Linked DNA regions of Homo sapiens: region 1 is linked to region 2. Evidence: promoter capture Hi-C in human tissues and cell types (Jung and others, 2019). All regions are on one chromosome and are shown on one strand. Each heading gives the region's core, a stretch centred on a gene start or on the middle of the fragment in contact. The rest is flanking DNA. Distances are from core to core; before and after follow the strand shown.

The links. Contacts are between HindIII fragments. The study calls those that stand out against the background at their distance.
Region 1: a contact is called between the fragment with the promoter of PAFAH1B1 here and the fragment with the promoter of DPH1 in region 2, in 1 of the 25 tissues and cell types used here (adrenal gland).

What each region holds. Positions count from the first base shown.
Region 1 is chr17:2,589,173-2,596,918 of GRCh38, forward strand. PAFAH1B1 (platelet activating factor acetylhydrolase 1b regulatory subunit 1) reads left to right here and starts at 4,482. Exons shown (of 11, transcript NM_000430.4): 1 at 4,482-4,834. RefSeq lists an enhancer at 3,688-4,416 and silencers at 4,251-4,470, 4,521-4,750, 5,161-5,220, 5,281-5,330. The HindIII fragment of the contact is 12,163 bases long and covers 1-7,746 here.
Region 2 is chr17:2,024,006-2,031,443 of GRCh38, forward strand. DPH1 (diphthamide biosynthesis 1) reads left to right here and starts at 6,148. Exons shown (of 13, transcript NM_001383.6): 1 at 6,148-6,225. The coding sequence starts at 6,165. It overlaps RTN4RL1 (reticulon 4 receptor like 1), which reads right to left and starts at 1,329. Exons shown (of 2, transcript NM_178568.4): 1 at 848-1,329. The coding sequence starts at 860. RefSeq lists enhancers at 176-721, 1,890-2,390, 5,896-6,487, 6,488-7,079. The HindIII fragment of the contact is 15,169 bases long and covers 1-7,438 here.

The sequences.
Region 1 (7,746 bases), core at 3,232-5,731, 560 kb after region 2:
AAATAAATGTTTCCAGGCTGGACGTGGTGGCTCACGCCTGTAATCCCAGCACTTTGAGAGGCTGAGGTGGGCAGATCACCTGAGGTCAGGAGTTCGAGACCAGCCTGGCCAACGTGGTGAAACCCCATCTCTACTAAAAATACAAAACTTAGCTGGGCATGGTGACGGGCGCCTGTAATCTCAGCTTCTCAGGAGGCTGAGGCAGGAGAATCGCTTCACCCGGGAGGCAGAGGATGCAGTGAACTGAGATTGTGCCATTGCACTCCAGGCTGGGTGACACAGTGAGAGTCCGTCTCAATAAATAAATCAATAAATAAATGTTTATGTTTCCATTTTGAAAATGTCTACTGGAAAAATAAAGATCTGCAATTAAAATGAACAGGGAGATTCTTGGATTGTGGTAAGTAAAATGGATGTTTATACTTATTTTTTTTCAAGAAACATCATCTGAAATGTCCATTATTAAACGTTTCCTGGATGGATATAGTAAGTTCTGTATAAGTCCTTACAAATTCTGATTGATAGCACAGATGTCCTAATTCTACATTTTCAATAGACAAGTGTTTATTAAGATAGATCTATCAGGCCGGGCGTGGTGGCTCACGCCTGTAATCCTAGCACTTTGGGAGGCTGAGGTAGGTGGATTGCTTGAGCTCAGGAGTTCGAGACCAGCCTGGGCAACATGGTAAAACCCCGTCTCTACTCAAATACAAAAAAAAATTAGCCGGGCGTGATAGCGCACGCCTGTAATCCCAGCTACTATGGAGGCTGAGACAGGAGAATCGCTTGAACCTGGGAGGCAGAGGTTGCAGTGAGCCGAGATCATGCCATTGCACTCCAGCCTGGGCGACAGAGTGAGACTCCATCTCAAAAAAAAAAAAAAAAAAAAAAGATAGATCTATCATCCTAGCAGCTAACTGAAGGGAAGGTGCATAGAACCGTAACACATCACTTCACATCAAGGTAAGCACGTAACCGTTTTCTGTTCAGAAAAATCATAATCCAGGGAGAAAGTTTTATACCTTACCACAAAGGGAGTTTATTGTTTTTTGAAGGACCACTATAGAAATAAAATTTGATATAAATTTAGTGCATAATTACATCATATAGATTTTAAATCTTTCTAAATATGAGTCTGTGAGCTCAAGGTTTATAGGAGTTAGTGCTACCTATTTGTATGAAGTCAGTGTTTATAAAAGTGTTTCTGATCTCTTTCTGGGCAATTTTATTTACTTTTAGAGCATTCGTTTAAAAAATAAGGAACTGATTTACTCAGCTAATTAAATATTAAGTAGCATGATATCAGACCATAATAAATATTTTAAAAGGTAAAAATGAAGGGAGGGTGGATTCTTAGAACAAAGGGATGCTAATTTATTGCATGTTTATTGACTGTTATTGAACCCAAGCAATAGCACAGACCAAAGCTCTATGCCTCATTTTATTGTCCTTATCTGAAAATCCCAGAAATGTAAAACTGGACAAGACTTTCTAAGACAATTTGATTCATCTCTGGCAAATCTTCATGAGGCAAAAACCCAAGGCCTTCATGCAATTGGCTCATGTTGCCTTTGAACACTTAGGGGATAGAGACAATCTTTCTTTTTTACTCATTTTACTTATTTAATTTAACTTTATTTTGAGACAGGGTCTTGCTCTGTCACCCAGGCTGGAGTGCAGTGGTGTGATCTCGGTTCACTGCAGCCTCCACCTCCTGGGCTCAAACGATCCTCCCATCTCAGCCTCCCAATGGGTGGAACCACAGGCCCAAACCACCACATCTGGCTAATTTCTCTATTTTTCCGTAGAGACGGGGTTTCCCTGTCTTGCCCAAGCTGCTCTCCAACTCCTGGGCTCAAGAGATTCTCCCACCTTGGCACCCCAAAGTGCTGGGATTACAGCCTTGAACGACTGATCCCAGCCTATTTTTAGAGATGGGGGTCCAGTCTGCCCAGGATACAGTGCAGTAGCATGACCATGATTCACTGCAGCCTGGACCTCCTGGGCTCAAGCGATCCGCCTGCCTCTGCCTCCTGGGTAGCTAGGACTCCAGGCATGCGCCACCACACCCAGCTAATTAAAAGTTTTTGTTTTTGTTTGTTTTTTTGAGACAGACTCTGGCTTTGTTACCTAGGCTGGAGTGCAGTGGCATGATCTTGACTCACTGCAACCTCCGCCTCCCGGCTTCAAGCGATTCTCATGCCTCAGTCCCGAAAGTAGCTGGGATTACAGGCACACACCACCATGCCCGGCTAATTTTTGTGTTTTTAGTAGAGATGGCATTTCGCCATGTTGACCAGGCCGGTCTCGAAATCCTGACCTCAAGTGATCCACCTGTCTGAGCCTCCCAAAGTGTTGGGATTGCAGGCGTGAGTCCCCGCGCCCGGCTGTTTTTCTTTTCTTTTTTTGTTTTTAGAGATGAGATCTTGCTTTGTTGCCCTGGCTGGTCTGGATCTCCAGGGCTTGAGCAATCCTCCCATCTCATCCTCCCCAGTAGCTGGGACTACAGGCATGTGCCACCACACTTAGCTAATTTTTAAAATTTTTTTGTAGAGATGAGGTTTCACTATGTTGCACCTGCTGGTCTCCAACTCCTTGGCTCAGGTGATCCACGGCCCCCCTCCCAACCTCCCCATCCCTGCCTTGGCCTCCCAAATTGCTGGGATTACAGGGGTTAGCAACCTGTGCCTGGCAGAGATAACCTTTCTTGAACAAAGGAAACTTGTTTTGGTATCAAGCAACAGTAATGTTTACATGAGTTACCTATAAGTCCCCACGAAACTAAGATACTTTACACAGGCTGCACCTCCTCTGTAATTCTCACAAAAGCCGGGTTAGTTATTAGGTGTCTTTTATTGAGAAACTGAGGCCAAAGAGAGGTATGGTAATTTGCCCCAGGTCGCGCTTCTGGCAAGTGCGGGGTCCAGGATTTACACCTAAGTTGTCTCTTTCGTTAACTCTGCTGCTTCTCAAATGCAGTATATATATATATATTTACCTACATAAAGTGACGCAATAAAATCAGTACACATAAGCTTAAGCCTGTTTCAAGAAAAAAGCTTCCTTGGACAATACAAATGAATGATAAGATAATCTCATTTAAACCTGTTATTAAAATAATAGCCCATATTGAATTATTCAGAACCCCAAATCTCGCTTTTTAAAAATCAAGGGTCGGCTGAGCACGGTGGCTCACGCCTGTAATCCCAGCACTTTGGGAGGCAGAGGCGGGCGGATCACGAGGTCAAGGGATCGAGACCATCCGGGCCAACATGATGAAACCCCGTCTCTACTAAAAATACCAAAAAAATTAGCCGGGCGTGGTGGTGGGCGCCTGTGGTCCCAGCTACTCGGGAGGCTGAGGCAGGAGAATGGCGTGAACCCGGGAGGCGGAGCCTGCAGTGAGTGGAGATTGCACCACTGCACTCCAGCCTGGGCGACAGAGCGAGACTCCATCTCAAAAACAAAAACAAAAACAAAAAACAAAAATTAGCTGGGCGTGGTGGCAAGTGCCTGTACTCCCAGCTACTCGGGAGGCTGATGCAGAGAATCGCTTGAACTCGGGAGGCGGAGGTTGCAGTGAGCCGAGATCGCGCCACTGCACTCCAGCCTGGGCGACACAGCGAGACTCCGTCTCAAAAAAAAAAAAAAAAAAAAAAGGAAAAGAAAAGAAAAATCATAGGTATCTGTGTGGAATAAATTAACTACAAATCCCCAAGACGACTCTTGTCATCAATATTTCAATCCATAATTTAGCAAACACACACAGACATCCCTTATAGGGATACAGTTCCAGGCCTTTCTTTGGGCATCCGTTTCGAGACCTGGAGAGACTCTGATGTCTGTGTGTGACTAAGGAGAAGAATAGCTGAATCATATCCAAAAGCGAGTCCTCCCAATTAAGAATCTATAATACAAATCAAGACAATGACAGCATTCCATCTGCCTTTTAACCTCAACAGCTCCTCCTCCCAAGCCAGCCAGCCTACTCCCCTCCCTCATTCCCCCCCAAACTGGGAAATCATCTCGGAGGCCGGAGGCAGAAAGGGGCGGTAGGTGGCCGGGCCCCGCTGCCTCTCGCGCCTCCCGGGGCCCGCCACACACGGTGCCAACGGGACGCCGCGGTCGGCCGCATGAGCGCAAAAGCAGGGCAGCGAGGTGAGCAGAGCCAGAGTTCAGAAGGGGCCGCAAGTCAGACGAGGGGCTGGGAAAAAAGAGCCTCTCCCAAGGTTAACAGAAGCGTGCGGAGCGTGAGAAGCAGCACCTCGCACGCAGACTCGCCCGCCGGCCGGGTGGCACCGCTCAGCCGCCCGCCCGCTAGAAGGCAGCGCGGCCCCGGCCCGGCCCAGCCCGGCGCATGCGCCGCAGCCCCTCCTCCGCTCCCGGCGCCCGCCCCTCCCTCTTCCTGGCGGGTCTGGGGCGGCGGCGGCGGCGGCGGCGGCGGCGCGGTGACGTCAGGGCGTTGGGGCAGCTCCTGTGACAGACGGAGCTGGAGCGGCGGGGCGGCGGCGGAGTCCGGCGGCCGGGAGAGCGAGTGAGCGAGCGGAGGAGCAGCGACACGGGAGTCTAGGGAGCGAGAAGGAGAAGGAGGGGAGCGCTCGGGCGCGAGCGAGAGAAACCGCGAGCGCCGAGCTTGGACTCGAGCCCCGGAACGGCTGAGGAGCCCGCCCGCTCCCCTCCCCTCCCCCTCCCCGGGCCCGGGCCCAGCGCGCCATCCTCCCCCCTCCTTCCCTCCCTCCCTCCTTCCTCCCTCCCCTCTCCCTCCCCCTCCCCCGCCGGTGGATGGGAGTGAAGGACGGAAGAGGCCCTGCGGAGGCGGCGGTGCAGCGCTCCGGTAAGGCGGCGCGGGTCTGCGCCCTCCCCTCTGTCTCCTCCACCGCGCCCGGGCGGCTGCAGGCCGGACCCGGCGGCCTGACGATGTGGCTGCGCCGGTCCCCTCCCTCCCATTCTCCCCTCCCCCTGCCTCCGCCGCCGCCTCCTCCTTCTTCTTCTCTCCTCGCTCTCAAAATGGCGGCCGCGACGGCCGTTGAGTGAGAGACCCGGAGGAGGGGGACTGTCCGGGGAGGGCGCTGCCCTCGCTCCTCTCCTCCCGGGCCCGGCTTTGGGGGCTGCCGGCGCCTCTGCGACCCCCGCCCCGCGGCCCTCCCCAAGAAGGGATCGCCCTCCTCCCTCGGTGACTTAGCAAGAAAAGTATTCTTGGGTTGGAAGGGCGTGGGGACCAGGTAGCTCTCTGATCTTGGGGAAAAGGATCGGCCCTGCTCTCCCCGGCCGCGGAGACGAGCACCGCAGTCCCCACCCCACCCTCAGTTATCGGCTCGGGGACCGGCTCAGCCCCGCGCCGCCGGGGCACTCATAGGGCCTTCCAGGCATTCCGTCCCCGACTGGTCCTTAAGATGGGGTTGACCAGCGGAGGGTGGCCCACCGTCTCCCTGGCCCCCGGTGCGGCGGTCCAGCCTCAGCACCCGCCGAGGAGAGGCAGCCCGGCCCACCGAGCAATCCGCAGCATCCACCCACCGAATCTGGCAGGATTTTCTTTCTGCCACCGGCTCCTCGGTCGGGAGTTGCCTTTTGATGCTGTTAACATTCAGCTTCGAGGCTCCCTGCCATTCCCCTTCGTCTAATCTCATCTCCCTGCCCCTTTGGGAAACGCAGTGCCTCTGCATATTTACCCTCTTTAGCCTCCCACATGAGAAAATGCCTTTGAGGTGGTCGACACATTTTGACTCTGCACCTCTAAACGTAGCAGTAGAGGGGAAGAGGTTTTCCGTATTTAGTAGGAGAGAGCAAGGTACCATAGCTTTATATGTTATGCTACCTTTCTTCAGTGACTTAGCAAGAAACTCCTTGGGAAGAGGGCAGGAAATTTTCTTTTGGGGTTTGGGCCCAATTTATATCAGTCTTTTGGTTAAGAAAATACGCCTTTGAAGAGGAGGACCAGATTTGTGGTCTCGTTCTCAATGGGCGATGTCATGCCAAGGTCCCCCCTCCCTCTTTCCTTAAGTGGCAGTCCGGACAAATAGAGATATTACTGATATTCCCATCTCTCCTTTAAGCACACAGTCTTGGAGTTTCATAAGGTTTTAAAGGCCAAACAAACAATTTGTGCCATTTTTGGCAATTCTGTTTTTGTTGGGGGGGTGGGTTATTTTGTGTGAATTTCTTTTCGAGGCTAGGGCGGAGGAGACAGTGCTTGGGCCTTTCATACCAGTGATAATGTCATCCCTCCCTTTTTGCCACAGGAGTGTTTGCTTTTTTTTTTTTTTTTGCTGCAGCAGGGCGGCTTAATTGCTGCGGGGTCCAGTCTCATAATCAGGAAAATTTCCTGTTGACTGTGTCATAGTGATGTTGAATATATAGTAAAAGCTTTTACTTAAAAAATTCTGATTTGGTTTTAAGGCATTAGCTAGCTTTTAATCTCTAATGGGTGTCTTTTAGGACACAGTTTCACAAAATAATTAGCAGTTGCAAATTGCAGTTTTTAATAAAGCAGAAGAGTAATCTGTATTTAGGGTGATTTCTTTCGTGTTCATTAATGATCATTGTTTGGATTGCTCAGAAGGGGGGAATCTCCTAAAAGAAATTGAAGGCTGGTATATATTTTAAAATCAGAAAGGAATCCAATTTTTCACTTGAAGTATTTCTGTATATGTTGATTTTGATGGAGCAAGCCCTACGTTGGTACCTCCCCCCACATCCTTTTTTAAAAAAATGGGCTAATATTTGTGGATGCTGTGAACAGCCATTGAGCCGAGAAGACTGGGTGGAGTAAGGGAGCAGAAGCTGTGAAATGCTGTATTGCCCTTTCACAGCGTCTTTCTCTTGCTTATGTTTTGTAAGGTTATTTGATATGAATGGTTGCTACAACTAAGTCATTTCTCTGTCGTAAGTCTTAAAATCTAATGTTTTCCACCTTTTTTGCATGATGGGCATTGAATGATTGGAATAAAAAGCAATGTCCCTGCTTTAAAATAGACACTTATTGTCTCCTTATTTGTCCCTGTGTGTGTGTGTGTATATATTAATATATAAAGATACACACACACATATATCTACACTCTTGTTAATGTTTTTTATTGTTCTCGCCATATAAGTATAAATTAATGTCAGAAATATTTGGCAAGAAATAGGGGGTACAGGAATACTGCAATAATCTAAGAAAAATACTACAATTGTTTTACTTAAAACAGTAAATCTATTTGAGATTTTAAAATAGTGAACATAAAAGGTGGGGAAAAAAGGATAAGATAATTTGCATGAAAGCCCCTTCAGATCTTTTCTCTTGTGTTGCTCTTTGAAAGGGACCTTTTTGTGAGATACTGCCATAAGCTAGGGTAGGTCATTTTAATGCCCTGTATCAAGCATTCACATGAGTAGACATCTTCAAAAGAATTTCACATATAGGTGGTAAATGTGACTTTGATTAGCCTTATGAATGCTTGTCAGTGTATGATGTATTTTTACACTTTTGTTCTTTTTAATATGATTAGAAAGTAGAAGGGTTATTATGGTGAGGAAATGAGTAAGGTTGGGAATGATAATTCACTGTATTATGTGTCTGACATATCCCTATTCCTACTGTTTGTAGAATATCAAAGCACACTAAGGTCCAGGTGCAGTGGTTCACGCCTGTAATCTCAGCACTTTGGGAGGCCGAGGCAGGTGGATCACCTGAGGTCAGGAGTTCGAGACCAGACTGACCAATATGGTGAAACCCCGTCTCTACTAAAAATACAAAAAAATTAGCCA
Region 2 (7,438 bases), core at 4,898-7,397:
GGCGGGGCCCGTGGGCTCCCGGCGTGATCACCTGCCCTCCCAGGGCCCGGGGGACGGCGCCCCGCGTGGCAACCACGTGGGGGCGCGGCGGGACTTCCCCGGTGCCCGCACCAACTTTGCCGCGCTCCGTACCGGGCCGGGCTGCTGGGGCGTCTAGCTACGGTGGTCGCGAAGCCAGCTGTCCTCAAGTTGAGCTGTGCACCGGTCGCGCACACTGGCGGCACGGCTTTCGCGTCCCTCCGCTCCCAGCATAATGAAAGTTTGAGGAACTGGACATCAGGCGCTGGCCGCTCCCCACCCTCAGCCGCTGGGTGCCCAGAGCCCATCCCTAGCGATCAGAGCAGAACTGCAGAGAAGACGTCCGCGTCCGGGCCCCGTCTGGGGAGCTAGGGCGCGCGGGGAGCGCCCGGGCCGCGCGGTCACTGACCGCTGGCTGCACGGGGGCGCCGTGCGGACTCGGCCTCCACAAAGCGGCAGAAGCAAGGGCGTGTGCCCGCGCAGGGAATGGAGGCTGCAAGTGCAAAACTTTATCCCAGCAAAGCAAAGGTCCCAGGAGGCCGGCTCCCCTTCCACCACCGGCCGCTCACTCTGGTCTCCGACTGACCCCTCCGGGCCGGATCTCTAGGCCTGGCCACTCGATCCATGGAGAAAACCCCGTGTCTCACAACTGGCCGCTGACGGGAGCTGAGCCCCAGCAGCAGCCCCTCGGCGGGTGCGCCCGGCAAAACCCACCAGCCCGCCGGGGGCTACTTCCCAGACCGGGAGCCCCGGCGCCGGGCGGCGCCCGGGCTCGCGGCTCTTTCCGGAGCGCATTCAACTTCAACTTGCCCCTGCGGCTCCAACTCACCTTTGCGAAGCATGTTGGCCACGGGGCCGCCGCTCCGAGGTCGGCCTAGGCGCACTCCCTCCCGGGGTCCAGATTCAAATCCCTGGGCGCCAGCTGCAGCTAATCCGAGCGCGTCGAGGCGGGGGCAAGCCGGGGATCCGCTCGTGCCCGGTGGCCCGGCCCCGCAGGGGCATGGTGAGCTCCAGCCCCGCGCCGAGGGCACCGGCGCCCGCAAGCAACCGTGGTGCTGCCCGGCAGCCCCGCGCGCTTGCTCAGCCCCGGGGCGAGCGGCTTGCTCCGCGGAGCCGGCGGCCTGCTTCTGCCACCCGGAGCACTTCGCAGGCGGTTTTGAGGGGGGACGCCGCCCCCTGGCCGGCCGGCCGCAGCCCCCTCCTCTCCGCCCCCTCGGACCACCGCCGCCGCGGCTGCAGCAAAAGGGCGCTCGCACGCACCGCCGAGCTCCGGGGAAAGCGCCCGGCGCGCGTTTGCAGGACCGAGCGATCGGCGGAGCGGGGCGCCTCCCTTCCTCCCCCCGGCTTCCCCCTCCTCTCCTCCTCCCTCCCTCCCTTGCTCTCTAGCTCCCTCCCTCTCGCTCCGCTCCCCGCCCCCGCTCACGGAGCGCCTCCCATACAAAATTTATGAAAGTGCTCTCAGCTCGCAGTGCCGAGCGCCGTCCTATTCCCAAGGCAGCAGCGCTCAGCCGCGCGGCGCCGCCTCCCAAGGTGTTTTCACTGCGCCCGCCCCCGGGGAAGATGCTCGGCCCGCGTCCGTCCAGGCACCTGCCCCCAGTCCCCAAGCCGGTCCTCGGACCACTCCACGCCCCTCCCCGGCCCCGCAGGCCTCCTGGAGCCCGAACCCGCAGCCCAGCCCCCGCCCGCTCGCCCTTCGCGGCTGGAGGTCATCGGGAGACGCGGCTGGGACGCGAGGACCGCCGCCCAGAGTACGGATCGCGAGTCCGCTCCCTGCCCCGTCTCCTCCCTGGCCAGCGCCCCTTCTCCCAGTCTCGACGGCTCTTCCCCGCACTGAACAGCTCCAGCGAACCCGGCTGCCCCGCACCCCGAGTCCCAGGACACTGTTCTTTCGTGGGGAGAGGAGGGGAGCAAGCATTCGGAAAGGGCCAGCTGCAAATTCCAGGGAGAAGGAAGGACCCGTGCGGGTTCGGGTGGGCCGTCTCCGCCTGGGTGGGGTGGCGGCGGGGGGTCTCTGATCTCCCTTGGTCCACACAGACCCCGCCGGGGGGTTCGCGGAAAATGGAGGAGGCGCCGCTTGGAAAGCGGGTCCCGCAGGGGCCTGTTGAGCTGAGGGAAGAGAAGGTTCGGGCCAGGCGAGATCCTGGGTGGAGGCGGCACCCCCTGCTGGCCTGGGATCAGAGGGATTCGGAGAGAAGAAAAAGCGGATGGACCAAGGCTGTCATTCAACACACATTCACCGAAGGCTCAGCATGTGTGGGGCACTACTGTTCCTGAAAATTCAGCAGACGAAAAAGACTTGTCTTTGCCCTGTCCTCAAGGAGTTTCCATTTTAATAGGGGCCAAATGAGGAAAGTCCAGAGAAGATGGGAAGATTGTGCTTCGAAGAAAAACAAGCAGAGTATTGTTCTGGAGCTGACACGGGGGTAGAGGTGGCAGTCAAGGAAAGCTGCTCTGAGCAGGTGACATCCAAGCAGAAATCCAACTGAATCCCTCCTTGTAGGAAAAGGTGACATGATAGGAAGGTCAAAAAGAAGGTCAGGGCCGGGCGCGGTGGCTCACGCCTGTAATCCTAGCACTTTGGGAGGCGGAGGCAGGCAGATCACGAGGTCAGGAGTTCGAGACCACCCTGGCCCGCATGGTGAAACCCGGTCTCTAATAAAAATACAAAAATTAGCCGGGCATGGTGGCAGGCGCCTGTAATCCCAGGTACTCGGGAGGCTGAGGCAGGAGACTCGCTTGAACCCGGGAGGCGGAGGTTGCAGTGAGCCGAGATCGCGCCACTGCACTCCAGCCTGGGTGACAGAGTGAGACTCTGTCTCAAAAAAAAAAAAAAAAAAAGGGCCAGGCTGGGCGCGGTGGCTCACACCTGTAATCCCAGCACTTTGGGAGGCTGAGCAGATCACTTGAGGTCAGGAGTTCGAGACCAGCCTGGCCAAGGTGAAACCCCGTCTCTATTAAAAATACAAAAATTAGCCGAGCGTGGTGGTGTGCGCCTGTAATCCCAGCTACTTGGGAGGCTACGGGAGAATCTCTTGAACACAGGAGATGGAGATTGCAATGAGCCGAGATCACACCACTGCACTCCTGCCTGGGTGACAGAGCGAGACTGTCTCAAAAAAACAAAACAAACAAAAAAAAAGAAGGCCAGTCTGACGTATTCACTCACACCTGCATTTGGTGGCACTGAAGCTTCAGATTTGAGCTAAGGCTCTGGGCTTGGACTTCCAGAAGCTTCAGGTGTCGTGGGAAAAGAAAGACCCGCAAACCATCTTAGAGTGTGACTGACAGAAGTCACAAAGACTGCGAAAGGGCTCTGCTAGCTCTGCCAGGGGCTACCAGATAATCAGGAAACAGTCACAGAAGAGGTGCCCTTGGAGTTAGGTCTTGAAGGCTGAGTTCACCACACTAAGAAGGGGGAAGGGCATTCCACGTAGATGCTTGAAGGTGAGAAGTAACCTTGTTCTGAAGATAGATAAGATTGGTCCTTCCTGAGGACCATGGGCTCACACCTATAATCTCACCACTTTGGAAGGCTGGGGTGGGAGGATTGCTTGAGGCCAGGAGTTTGAGACCAGCCTGGGCAACAGTGTGAGACTCCATCTCTATTTCAAAAAAATGTTTAAAGATAAAAAAAGATGGATGGCTGCTACTCTGGGCACACTGCCCATGGCCACAGGAGCAGTTAAACACGAACAAAAAAAGATTGGTCCCTCTTGGCGTAGAACAGAAGGTGAGGTATTCCTTCTCTTAGCCACCAGCTACAAGGCAGTGCTCACCCCACTGCCTGCCTTAGCCCTGACACTGGGAGCCTGAGAGGTCCTCTGTAAGTACACCGAGGCCCAGAGAGGATGAACAACTTGCTCAACGTCACATCACAGATCAGCGATAAAGTGTGGGCCTGACTCAGGGCCTGAATGTGGGATAATCCTCCTTCCACCTCTCCAAGCCGCCTCCCCATGACCCCCTAGCCCACAAACTCTAGCGTCTTAGGAAAAGTTGGCTGGGGCTGGGCGTGAGTGTGAGAAGCAGAGTTATTTCAGGCCTCAGGAGGGTTGGGTGCTGCCTTGGAGTCCAGCCAGGGAGTGGGGGCGAGTGAAGGCGGGTGTTGTGGTGTACTGTGGGGGTGCACTGTGCCCGCCTTCTTGTCAGGCAGTAATTACTCAGACTGCTGAGTAACTCAGGCAGGGAGACCCCCACAGACAGATGGAGGTGCCCTCAGCCCAAGCTGAATGGCAGCCCCCAATGTCCTGCACCACGGAGTCTTGGGGAAGCATTCTCACATCTGTTCTTCATGTCCAGTTCTCCTAGGCATCATCCGGCTTCCTAATGGGGGCCAGAGCAGCTCATTAGGCACAGCGGGTGCGGGGCAATGTTACTAGAGGGATGGGACTTTTGCCATCAAACAGGCCCCACCTCTGATGAGGGAAAGGTCCCAAGGGATATGGCGCCTGCTAGGGAGAAGCCATTGCTCAGTTGGAGCCAGTCCTTTCCCCTTGAAACTCCATGCTGCAGTCACAGCTAAGGCTGTCCACAGGCTGGGCAGCAGTGTCCTGAGAGAGGAGGGGCTGAGCTCCCAGAATTCAGATCTTGCACCCTGGGGATCCAGAGAAGCTGGGGGGAGATGGGAAGGTCTAGTCCGGACGCTTATCGAGTTGAGGGGAGTGTTCCTGGGACCCACATTGGTCACTTTTCTGTCTAGAGCTACCTGTCCTAAGAGTGCCGGTGGCCTGGGGGGCACAGCACTGACCCTTGGTGATGGTCCCTCAGCTGCTCACTCCCTGCCTGTCCAGCCATTCCTCCTCTCTGGGCAGCCTCCCAGGCAGGGCCTGTCTCTGGCTGCTTGTTTTTACTTCTCCCTGCACCTTAATTAGGGGTTTCCAAGCAGGGAGGGCCTCTGGGGGAGCCCGAGGACACAGAGCTGACTTAAAGGGCCAGCTGTGATCACAGCACCACCGCAGAGAGAGGAGGAGGATGCCAGGGGGCTGGGTAGACCGTCAGACCTGGAAGACCATTGTTCCACGGGACAGACTGCTGAGGGCCAGTCCTGCAGGTACTTTGCTCTTCCACAGGTCAAAGCCGTCTCACTGGCTGTCTTCTCTTTGGGGTCTCTGGGGCTCTGGCCAGTGATCAGGAGAAAGACCAGCCCTGAGGGGCAGGGCAAAGGTTGGCCAGGGTCCAGAAGGGTTAGACATCACAGTCCTCCACTGCCCACCTTCCCAGGAAAGCACCCTCAGGCTGTGGGCCTTCCCCAGAGGGGCAGTTTCTACAGGGTCTACGCAGTGGATTCTAAAGGTGATAAAGGCTGGGTGCAGTGGCTCGCGCCTGTAATCCCAGCACTTTGGGAGGCCAAAGTGGGAGGATTGCTTGAGTCCAGAGGTTCAAGACCAGCCTGAGCAAAATAGTGAAACCTTATCTCTACTAAAAAAAAAAAAAAAAAAAAAAAAAAAAATTAGCTGAACGTACGCCTGTGGTCCCGGGTACTCAGGGGGCTGAGGCAGGAAGATGAATTGAGCCCAGAAGGTTGAGACTGCTGTGAACCATGATCGCACCACTGCACTCCAGCCTGGGCGACAGACCAAGACCCTGTCTCAAAAAAAATAATTTAAAAAGCTGATAAGGGCGATCCACAAACCTGCACCAAGACTCTCAACTTGGAGCTGGGCTGGTGGTCCCTGAGTTCTGTCCTGCCGGACAGTAGAGTCCCCCTAGGTAGGGAACGTGGCCCCACACGGCGGCCGGGTGACCGACCACTGCTTACCAGGAGGGGAGACTGGCAGGGGGGGCTCAAGGAACATCTGGTGGGTGTCCCCTTCACAAGACTCGGCCTGCAGAGTTCGTGCAGGGAGTTCGCACATAGGAGAGCACCGGTCCGGGAGTGCCAGGCTCGTGCCCGGCCGGGGAGAGGAGTGGGAGACTAAGTCGCAGGGCAAGGGCAACTGCATAGTCGGGGACCTCTAGGGAATCCTGAGTCCCGGCATTCTGGGCTGGGGTGGAGCCCACTACAGCCCCGCCCCTATCTCCTCCTTTATGGCCCCGCCCAGCGGGTATCCCCCGCCCCCGCTGGCCGATCGGCGATCGATCGCAATGTCTGCGCTCTCCGCGTTCTTCCAGCGCTGTCTTTTTAGTACCACATGCGCAGGCAGGTGATGGCGGCGCTGGTCGTATCCGGGGCAGCGGAGCAGGGCGGCCGAGACGGCCCTGGCAGAGGTGGGTGCTGGAACGCTGCGCCCTCCAGACCTCGCATCTCGGGGCGGGGCCCCCAAGTTAGGGACAGGACCAACCCCCTTTAACGGCGGCGGCGCCTTTCTCCGCTAGATCCCGCTGTTAGTCGCCTTGGGCCGCTGTCACCAGCTCGGGGTCGCTGTCAGCCGGAGCCCAGGGGTACCAGTCTTTTGCAGCTTTAGGGCACGACCGAGAGCAGCCCTTAATCCTCCAATCGGAAACTACAGCCTTGTCTTGGCGGGTAGACGGATAAAATGGACTCGACGGGGAGGGAAAGGGCCAGGCCAGATGCAGCGGGCATTTTACGAGTGCGCCCTCAGGGAATGCTTTCAGGGAAGAGGCAAAAGGTTTCATTCGCCAGGCATTAACTGAGCGCCCACCGAATGCCAGGCCTGCGCTGGGTGCAGGTACTAGAATCAGAGATCTCAGTCTACTGGGGGAATGTTAATGTAAACATATCATAGCCACGTGATAAAGGAGGAGGTGCCTACTGGTCCCTGGGACACATTGAAGGGCTAATGTTAGCAGTTCCTTACACGCCAGCGACCACTAGGGACCTGTCAGAGGAGGATCTGTAATGGGCCTAGGAAGCCTAGGCTGATTGTCCAAGGCTTTTGAAACAACTGGCCAAAAACCATAGCAGTGGTAACGTTCAAATCTGATCTCAGGGCCCCAGCCTCCGCTGGACCATCCCCACCGCCGCCCACACAGTGGGTGAAGCCTCATGTCTGGGCGGGTCCCTCCTATCATAGTGTGGGGCCCTAGCAGAAGTTGTGGCACATAGCACAGTCTCAATACATATTCGTTGAATAAGTTAATTTCTTGCCTTTTCATATCCTCAGACTCTGTGGCTCCTGAAGAGATAACGGGGTTGAACTAAGCTTAATTGTCGGGGCAGGGCATAGTGGCTTACACCTTTAGTCTGAGCACTTTGGGAGGCTAAGGAGGATTGTGTGAGCCCAGGAATTCCACACCAGTCTGGGAAACATAGGGGGACCCTGTATGCACAAAAAAATAAAAAATAGCCGTGCGTGGCCGGGCACGGTGGCTTACACCTGTAATCCCAGCACTCTGGGAGGCTGAGGCGGGCGGATTACCTGAGGTCAGGAGTTTGAGACCAGCCTGGCCAACATGGTGGAAACCCTGTCTCTACTAAAAATACAAAAATTAGCCGCGTGTGGTAGCACACGCCTGTAAT